Regions from separate parts of the Homo sapiens genome. Here all the other regions are linked to region 1. Evidence: promoter capture Hi-C in 16 types of primary human blood cells and fetal thymus (Javierre and others, 2016). All regions are on one chromosome and are shown on one strand. The core of a region is centred on a gene start or on the middle of the fragment in contact, and the rest is flanking DNA. Distances in the headings are between cores, read along the strand shown. Region 1 holds the start of CCDC122 (coiled-coil domain containing 122). Region 2 overlaps GPALPP1 (GPALPP motifs containing 1). Region 3 overlaps NUFIP1 (nuclear FMR1 interacting protein 1).

Region 1 (3,323 bases), core at 329-2,828:
CTGTGCCTGGGTACAATTACCTTAATGCTGCTCAGATTTTTTTCATCAATTTTCTGTTTAATGGTATACAAAGTGGCAGCCATGCTGGGACAGCTAACAATCTCAAATTCTTCCAAGAGAGCTGATAATCCATTGCTTGTTTCTATTTCACAATTATCTTGTTCTCCATCCCTTTCATAGCTGATGTTACTGCAACACATTATACAGAGAAACTTGGCCTTGGCAGCATGGTGGTATTGGACAGCATTCAAAGTCTTCAGTAATGTCTGATGGCAGTTTTTTTGAGAGTTCAATTTCAAACCAAAAAGATCAATCAAAACAGCTTCTGCCATCCTTGAAAGAATACTTTTATGCCAAATAAATCACCTGCAAATAAAAATTAGTGTAAGAATATAAGATTATATAAATCTTATAGTTACAACAGAAATTTGTGGTAGATTAAAAACGAAGTAATTACACTGATTTTAAAATGTAACTAAAATAGTAAATCTAGGCCCCTCCCAGAAAAGCCAGTCTACTCTGTCACAACAGAACCATGACAGTGAAAGCAAAGCCATCTTTTAATTCGTTTTGTGAAAATGCTGGTACATCTTTCCAGCAGCACGACAGTTCCTCTGTTTTGTTTACACAGAACTTTTGAGTAAGGAATTACTTGTGGAGTTTAGACAAAGTCCTGTTTTTAAATTGCAGAGTGTCAACCTGTGTGATATATCATTAGTCCTGACATGATTGTCATATTAGGTCTCATCCTTTCATATGCGGGGGCTTAAGTTTACGAAGCTAAATGGAGCTGCACGCGAAATTCGCGTTTTAAGATGATAAAAGCTGAGATGGCTAATAGAGTTCCCTTCAGGATTTGCGCAGTACTCCACACTTAGCAATGACCACAAAAGCTATAGTGATTTGGATGAGACAGGCTTCCTCTCAACTTTCTTAATTCATTCTCCCCGTGCAGCTTTGCTCACCTCCAGCCCAGCCCTCCCACCCCAACCTGCGGGGCTCCGGTGACCCCCTTTGGTGACGCCCTTTGCCCCAAGAAGGTTTTCTCCTGCCGCTTCCCCTAACCTTTGCTCCCCATCTCTCGGGGCTCCCTCTGAGGTTCATTTAGCCAGTTTTGAGTGGGTGACCGTCCCCCCTTCCCTGTTCATTGTGAATTTCCGCCCAACGTGTGTCGCCGCCAGGTCCCTGTTCCTCCTACCCGCCTCGGCTCACGGGGCGCAGGCTGTGGCTCTGCACCTGCCCGGGCACCTCCACCGGCGGCTCACAGCCCATTCGGGACTTCCTGTCGGACAACGCACACCAGAGGCGATTCGGTCCTCGCCTTCCCGCTCTTCACCTTCGGTTGCACACCGGTCTACGGCGACCTCTGTGACAATTTGCCGCCCCGTCCCTCGTCCTGAGCCTCAACGAAATTGGGCAGCCGCGAGCGGGTCAGCTGGAGTCGTAAGCTCGGCCCAGCGCGACGACACCCGCCCCGCCTCACCTCGCCCACCTCGCCCACCTCGCCCCGCCTCGCCTCGCCCCGCCTCGCCCCGCCTCACCTCGCCCCCCTCGCCCACCTCGCCCCGCCTCACCTCACCTACCTCGCCGCGGCCGCACAGATTCCCCGCCTGATACCGTCCCAGGATCCCAGGGGAAACCTGACGGCCAGGTTCCCTCGTGCCAGCTGCCGGGAGGCGGGAGGGAGGTAGGCCAGGGCCGCCTGGCGTGCTTGGTGCGAACGCGGCGGGCCCAGCGCGAGAGCTGGGGAATCCCGGGATGAGCCAAGCGCCGCGAGCCCGCTGCTGCCTCAGCAGTTCCGGGTCTGGGCGGTCCGCGGAGTCGGCATCCCGCAGCCCCGGCGGCGTTAGAGGAACAGGAACCAGAGCCGCGCGAGGGCTCTCGCCCGGGAGCCAGGCGGGTTAGCGGGCAGGAGTGGGCAGGCCGAGTCCGGAAAGGGTCGCGAGGAGGCAGCTAGGGGCCCCTTGAGGAGGGATAGGGCGGCGGAACGACGGGCCCTGGGAGCGGGCGCAGGGCGGCAGGAGCTGCAGGTCTCCAGAGGGCACGGGGCGGGGAACTAGGGGCCCGGTTAGAAAGCCGGGCGGCGGGAACGGCGGGCACCGTGAGGGGGCGGCGGGAATGGTGGGTCGCGTGAGGCCGGGCTGCTGGAGCGACCTCGGGACTAAACCGCAGTCTCCCTTCTGCTAATGGAAGCCGTTTCCCAAGCGAGCTGAAGTCCGCGTTTCCGGTCTCTGAGGGACGCCTCGCTGACCCAGCAGTGTGGTCAGGACGCTGGGTTTCCTCACCGCAGCCCAGGGCCAGTCCCTTGTCATGCTAGCTCTTGGCAGCTTTTCCCATGCAGGGCTCAAGTCAGGGGCCCCCTCGAGATGTTTTAGTGTTTTTTTGTTGTTCATTTGTTTCCAGAAACAAGCTGTTGTCTCTCCTCCAATGTCTTTGTGCTGATTCTTGCTGACCAACACTCTTCCGAGCGCCTTCACTTGTGTTGACAACACGGATGTCCTCTATGGCCTTTTAAAATATGTGCCACTAGCAGGACTTAAGTAAAAGGCGCTCATCCCTAAAATCATGATAAAGGTGCAGTTTAGCATCCCTGATCTGTCCTCCAAGAATATAACGTTCATTTATTTGAAAATAGCAGTTAGGACATGGAAGGCCAGTGTATGGTAAAGGGAAAAAATATCCGACCTTCCAAGAGTAAGAGAAATGGTGCTTCCTGGGGAACTGGTTATGATGGAAGGAGAGGTCCCTTTTATCTTCATTGTTGCTCATTTGGTAGGCGCTAAAGAACCTTTGTCTCATAATCTCAGATAGCTGGGAATTTGGAAGAGCCCTCTGGGGTAGGCATGTTCTTGTGCTTGACTAGAGACTGGGAGCACTAACCCAGAATGGAAACCCACCCTTCAATAACCCTAGCACCAGTTATGTCAAAATTCATGTTTTCTTTGGTCATTTGTTAAAGAGCCCCGAGCGGTAGATGGTACACCCAATCAGAAGGTGCACTCTGCCCTGAGTTTGTTTATGTTAAATATCATTAGATTGGTGCAAAGGTAATTGCGGTTTTTGCCATTGACAAAGACCACAATTACTTTTGCACCAGCTTAATACCTCAAGCAAAACAGAGGTCTTTTAGTTACAAAGGTTTTAAACATTTATCTCTGTTTTTACAATGGTGGGATTCGTATTCTTTCATGCAAAAGTAGTGGCAGTAAAAAAAAAATGAAAAAGAAAATATTTCAAAAGAATGAAGTTGTCAGGGAAGAGAGTTTGTTATATTGTATTTGCATACCATTTCCTTTCACCATCTGGTCCTAGTGTCATGTCCT
Region 2 (3,323 bases), core at 421-2,920, 1.1 Mb before region 1:
TCAGACCTGTGTGCTCCCTCACTCCTCTTTACTCTGGTCATGCTTGTCAGATCTCCTTCTGGGACAGCAGAGTGTGAGGAACACAGGACAGATAACAGACTGGATTCAGGAATCTTCACTTGAAGGTAATCCTGACACCTGCTACCACATGGATGAAACTTAAGGACATTATGCTAAGTGAAATAAGCCAGTCCAAAAAAAAAAAAAAGACAAATACTGTATGATTCCACTCAAATGATGTACTTAAAGTAGTCAAATCATAGAGACAGAAAGTAGAATGGTGCTTGTCAGGAGCTGGAGGGGGGAATGAGGAGTTATTACTTAGTGAGTACAGAGTTTCTGTTTTACAAGATGAAAAGAGATGTGGATATGTTGGTAATAGTTGCTCAATCATCTGAATGTATTTAATGCCACTGAACTGTACATTTAAAGATGGTTAAGATGGTACATTTCATGTTATGTGTATTTTATCACAATTTTTAAAAACTGGAAAAAAAAAAAAAAAAAAAAAAAAAGAGGCTGGGCACAGTGGCTCACGCCTGTAATCCCAGTACTTTGGGAGGCTGAGGCAGATGGATCACTTGAGCCCAGGAGTTCCAGACCAGTCTGGCCAACATGGTGAAACCCCATCTCTACTAAAAATACAAAAATTAGCCAGATGTGAGGGTGCATCCCCGTAATTTCAGCTAGTCAGGAGGCTGAGGCAGGAGAATCACTTGAACCAGGAGGCAGAGGTTGCAGTAAGCTGAGATCATGCCACTGCACTCCAGCCAGGATGACAGTGAGATGCTGTTTAAAAAAAAAAAAAAATCCCGTTCCCAGCCAGCCATTAGGTTTCTTCCAGACTCCATACAAAGGATTATGGTTAGCTGTATTCATGCAGGTCCTGGCTTCTCCAACCCCCATAAATCCTGGGCCCCTCTTAAGGAATTTTTTTTTTTTTTTGCGACAAGGTCTTGTTTTAACACTCAGGCTGGAGTGCGGTGGTGTGATCACAGCTCACTGCAACCTCAAACTCCTGGGCTCAAGCAATCCTCTTGCCTCAGCCCCCCAAGTAGTTGAGACTGCATGTGCATGCTACCATGCCTGGCTAATTTTTAAATTTTTAGTAGAGATGAGGTCTTACTATGTTGCCTAGGCTGTTCTTGAAGTCCTGGGCTCAAGTGATCCTCCCACCTTAGCCTCCCAAAGTGCTGGGATTATAGGCATGAGCCACTGCGCCTGACCAGGAATTTTTACTGTCCTCTACTCCGCCAAAAGGAATCTACTGAGTACCCACTTTGTGCTGGGTACCCTGCTAGTATTGGGGATTACAGAGGCTTAGGACGTGGTTCCTTTCCTCATGGTTTAGTGGGGCAAACCAGCAAACAATCCAGCACAATAACTACAGATAGAGAAAGCCACGTGTGCTCCCATCCCTCACCACAAACACTGTGGTCTTGGCACCAGCAGGACCAGCAGCAGCAGCAGCAGCTGGGAGCTTGTCAGAAATGCAGAATCTCAGGCCTCACCCAGATCACCTGAATCAGAGTTGGCATCTTAACAAGATCTCTGGGTAATCCATGTGCATGTTCAAGTTTAAGGTGCACTGCTACAGAAGACAGAAATAGGGTGACCAATTGTGCTGGTTTGCTTGGGATTGAAGGGCTTCTTGGGATGTGGGATTTTTAGTGCTAAAACTGGGACAGTCCCAGGGACTTAGGGGGTAATTTAGTCTTTGCTCCTGAACTTGGAATACTTTAAAATCCTGTCAGGGGAGGAAAGAAGAGACTGGCTAGAACATTGAAAGATTTTTTTTAGAAGTTCATCTCCTTTTTTAAAGATTCTGATAGGAACTCTCACTGGGAATCATTAAACAAAGATGTTAGATAAGCATCTAAGTTCTTATATAAAAACCTTCACCCCATGGGTGGGAATATCATCACTTAAAAGAGAGAATAGAGTATTAAAAAAAAAGAGGGCTTAGGAGTCAGCTTTCAGAATCTTTAACACCTGAAGGTTTAATTGAAGATAAACTATTCGAGATGAAGAGGAGCTGCCCAAAGAGGAGACAAAAATGAGGGGAGTATGGTATCATAGAAACCAAAAGAGAAGGGGTGTGTGTGTGTGTGTGTGTGTGTGTGTGTGTGTTTAAAGATAGGGGCTTGTGTCTGGGTGCAGTGGCTCACGCCTGTAATCCCAGCACTTTGGGAGGCCAAAGCGAGAGGATCACCTGAGGTCGGGAGTTCAAGACCAGCCTGACCAACATGGAGAAACCCTCTCTCTACTAAAAATACAAAATTAGTTAGGTGTGGTGGTGCACGCCTGTATCCCAGCTACTTAGGAGGCTGAGGCAGGAGAATAGCTTGAACCCAGGAGGCGGAGGTTGTGGTGAGCCGAGATTGTGCCATTGCACTCCAGCCTGGGCAACAAGAGCGAAACTCCGTCTCAAAAAAAAAATAAAATGCTCTCTCTCCAATGCCTCACATTTCTAATTATCTAACGATATATATAATGTGATATTCTGAACAATGACCCTAAATCAACAACAACAACAAAAAACCACGAATAAATAATTTCAAGAATACTTTTATTATGAAAACCATGTATTTTGGAAAACTGTGTGACTTTATGTTTATCACGTGAGGAGGCCCATAACACCTGAATCCCAAGATGAAGTTTTGTACTGAGCTCTGAAAACTAGCAAAACGAACGAAACTAAGGGATGGGAGGAAGCACTCAAACTGAGGGAACAACATGTATGAAGACTTCAAGGTAGGATGGGACATGGTAGGCAGCAGGAACAGAGAAGACCAGGTAATTCAATTCTCCTGCCTCAGCCTCCCGAGTAGCTGGGATTACAGGCATGCACCACCACACCTGGGTAATTTTTGTATTTTTTTAGTAGAGACGGGGTTTCTCCACGTTGAGGCTGGTCTCGAATTCCTGACCTCAGGTGATCCGCCCGCCTCGGCCTCCCAAAGTGCTGGGATTACAGGCGTGAGCCACCGTGCCCGGCCGCGAGAGGGCATTTTTTTAAGAAATTAGACTCTAAATTCAAGTTTCTTTCTTTCTCTCTCCCTTTTTTTTTTTTTTTTTTTTTGAGACAGGGTCTCACTTTATCACCCAGGCTGGAGTGCAGTGGCATGATCATAGCTTACTACAACCTCCAACTCCTGGGCTCATGCGATCCTCCCACCTCAGCCTCCCAAGTAGCTGGGACTACAGGCATGCACTACCTGTATTTTTTGTAGAGATGGGGTTTTGCCATGTTGCCCAGGCTGGTCTTGAACTCATGGGTTCAAGAATGCCTGCCTCAGCTTCCCAAAGTGCTGGGATTACAA
Region 3 (3,323 bases), core at 349-2,848, 1.1 Mb before region 1:
AACTATAAGTGAATTTTGGAAGCGGCTCTGTCCTTCTGAATAAAGGATTGGTTTGAGCAAGCATTTAATAGGCTTGCTGGTGGCTCTTTTTATGTAGGACAGGTGGGGGCTGAGGGGATAGAGTCTAGCTCTGGTTTCCAGAGGTATGCTATGACAGCAGGCAGAAGTGCCTTGGAAGAGGAATGGGCAAAATCTGTTGAGGGAATAAGTGAGGTTATAGGTTTGTGAAATTTAGAGGTGTTTAAAGAGAATGAGGAAATGGGGTGAAGATGGCAATTTTGGATGAAGTTTATTTATACCTGTGATGTTGCTTTGTTTAGTAAGTGCTCTGAAAATTCTTTGGGCACTGGGTGAGTTCATCTGAGGTTCTTCCATAGTTTGTTTCTCAGGTTCTTGCTCTTTAATATATTCTGAAGAGTTCATATATATTTTTTCTGTATGTATATTTTATTAGAGGATATGGGAAATACTGCTTTTCTTTTGGTATGTTTGATAGATTTCTCAAAAATGCATAAATACTATCCCCACTAGCAATTTTTTAAAAACCTATTATGGGCCGGGCGTGGTGGCTCACACCTGTAATCCCAGCCCTTTGGGAGGCCAAGGCAGGCAGATCACTTGGGGTCAGGAGTTTGAGACCAGCCTGGCCAACATGGCGAAACCCTATCTCTACTAAAAATAAAAAAAATTAGCTGGGCATCGTGGCACGCACCTGTAATCCCAGATACTTGGGAGGCTGAGGCAGGAGAATTGCTTGAACCCAGAAGGCAGAGACTGCAGTGAGCCAAGGTCGTGCCACTGTACTCCAGCCTGGGCAACAGAGTGAGACTGTCTCAATAAAAAAACAACAAACAAAAAAACCCTGTTACAAAAATATACTTACTTTCTACATTCCTGTCATTCTCAATTTTTAAAAAATATTACTTGAACTCCTAAAAAGAGTAAGTTCCACATTGGTGTGGCAGAATAGTCCTTATTTCATGAATTTGATCTTTGTGTGAGAGCTACATTCTTTCCGATGAAGCCACTATATTCTTTGACATGCAGGAAAAATAAGGTCTTTATGTAGTTGCTCTGTTAGGAAAAGCTTGTGAAAGATTTCACAGAGTAAGAATTTTAAAGCTTAAAGAAAACTGAAGGTTTGCTTGGCATATGGCTTCCTTATCTTTGACAAAAGTACATCTTTGTCCTTACTTCTACATCTCTGTATTTTTCAGGTTAGTCAGACTCAGGGGTACCGAGTGTATTTAATTTAATAACTTTTAAGGCTTTCCATTAATAGCCTTTCCCCTACCTCCCCAAAAAAGCCACCAAAAAAAGTTATTCTTTCTTAATTCCTGTCCTATGTAGTACCAATGCTGTATGATTTGGCTTTAGGGAAAATGAGTGGTAGAGGTTTGTTTCCAAAACCTTGCTTTTATTATAGAAACAGTGGAACATTTTTCACAGCAGACTGGGAGTCCACTAGGTGGAGTAGTTTTACAATTTATTTCAACGCTTACTGTGGCTCTGAGGAAATCCTTTTGTTTCCCTGGTTCATGCAGAATTCCAACACAGGAGATCTGCTCTAAAGAATGCTGTATCTTTTTGATGTTCAGAAAGAAAAGTACAATAGTGTAGCTTGTGTGGAAGCAGTTGTGGTTTAATGAGAGTGGGAAGAGTAACTATGTTTTATAGAACAGGCAGAGGGGAAAAGCCAATAAATGGGTCGTGATTTGAGCATAAGGAAAAAATTGGAGAGAATAATGTGACCAGAATGGTCTGTGCTAAGATAATGGTTAGGACGGTTTGCCCATGTGTTGGCTCTGTAGTGCTTAAAGATTGTCACTGGAGGCATAAGGTATAGGCAATGAGGAAGGTGAAGAAGAGGTAAAAAATGAAAGAAGAGAGGAAGGAAAAGAGCATAGTTTCAGGACCATTTCCTCTTAGTGAACTGAGGAAAGATAGAAGTACAGGGAGAAAATGATTTTAGTAGATAAAAATATAGAAAAACCAACTGTGAAAATTTCCCTTGTCACGGTCTTTATAACTTCATATTATCCATTCTCTAACAGGAGATATTGGACTAAGCTTTACATGTATGTAACTGCAATGTAAGACATAATTTATGTTTTTTCAATAGTCTTTGGATTTGTTATTTCTTGTACTTTAGGAACCTGAACTCCTTCATCAGAACTCCTTTTTTTTCGTTATTCATTTATCTCAGCTTCATGTTGGTGGAGTGGGGCTTCCTACTGTTGTTTATGTGTGTAATTAGGTCTTGTGTTTCTGATTTTTCTTTTTTGCGATAATGTGCTTTTTAGCAACCATTTTTCTCTCTAGTTTTAAATATCTGGATTCTGTGTAAATAAGAATGTAATAAATTTTGGAAGAGGATTTTATTGATTTCAGCACCAAGAAAAATAAAATCTTACAACTTTTTAAAACTCTAATCTTACTTTTAGGAACATGATACTTAATTTTAGGAAGACAAGTTTCCTTACCTTTAGGAACATGATATTTAATTTTAGGAAGTTAAGTTTCTTTACCTTTAGGAACATGATACTGCAGTCTGCCTGAAAGAGAAAATTAGCTGTTTTAAAAGGCTTCCATCAAAGGAGTTTCTACACATCACATCTTTGATGTTTCACTTAGGGAACTCTTTCTTATATCTTACCTAAAATCCACTTGCTATAACAAGTTTAAATTCTTTACCAATGAAAAGCAGTTACCTAGCATCTGCTCTCTGGTACGTAGTACACTGTAGTGCCAAATTTTATCATGTAACATATAGCCCAACATGGTAAGAGTCTGCAATACTCTGCAAAAATGTTGAAGAAACTTAAGTAATAAGTAAATTTGAGAATTGTGGAGGGTGTTGAGTAGCTGTGAGTTACATGTCTCGCCACTGTGAGGCCTGTAAAAATCATTACTGTTTTTCTCATTTCTACTTCTGCATATTCTCTTCAGTTTGAGAACAACTGGACCATCCTCTCTGTAAAACTATTTTTATTGTCGCTTCTCATCTTCTTTTAAAGGTTGCAAATAGTTCCTTTCATCTTTCTTTGGAGGTTTTATTTTTCATCCTATTAATCATCTTTGAGTCTCTTCTGAATCCCTTCCAAGTCTTTTTTTTTTTTTTTTCTTCTCAGTGTTCCTTTAGTTTAGAAGTACAGAACTGGACACAGTGCCCTGAGATTATCTGACTGCTTTTGAGTATCCTGGAGGAAGATTTCACACTCGTACAAGTGCCAGAGTCTACTTCTTATAACCTTAGATTATGTTTGCTTTCGAAAAATGTAGTCATGTATTGCTGACTGTCAGATTTTTATCTCCTATGACCT

What was found. The method cuts DNA at HindIII sites, captures the fragments that hold promoters and counts their contacts. A CHiCAGO score of 5 or more calls a contact.
Region 2: a fragment that was not itself captured here is called in contact with the fragment with the promoter of CCDC122 in region 1 in 1 of 17 cell types (monocytes); the score reaches 6.8 in monocytes.
Region 3: a contact is called between a fragment that was not itself captured here and the fragment with the promoter of CCDC122 in region 1, in 2 of 17 cell types (monocytes and total B cells). The highest score is 5.5, in monocytes.

Annotation. Positions count from the first base shown.
Region 1 is chr13:43,877,995-43,881,317 of GRCh38, reverse strand. CCDC122 (coiled-coil domain containing 122) reads left to right here and starts at 1,578. Exons shown (of 7, transcript NM_144974.5): 1 at 1,578-1,687. LACC1 (laccase domain containing 1) reads right to left here and starts at 1,414. Exons shown (of 7, transcript NM_153218.4): 1 at 1,199-1,414; 2 at 1-366. The coding sequence starts at 332. RefSeq lists a silencer at 1,527-1,676. The HindIII fragment of the contact is 5,095 bases long and covers 1-3,323 here.
Region 2 is chr13:44,993,977-44,997,299 of GRCh38, reverse strand. All of the region lies in intron 1 of GPALPP1 (GPALPP motifs containing 1), which reads right to left. Among named protein-coding and RNA genes, the nearest start is that of GPALPP1, 6.1 kb to the right of the region's middle. The HindIII fragment of the contact is 5,076 bases long and covers 1-3,323 here.
Region 3 is chr13:44,968,207-44,971,529 of GRCh38, reverse strand. All of the region lies in intron 5 of NUFIP1 (nuclear FMR1 interacting protein 1), which reads left to right. Among named protein-coding and RNA genes, the nearest start is that of NUFIP1, 20 kb to the left of the region's middle. The HindIII fragment of the contact is 948 bases long and covers 1,125-2,072 here.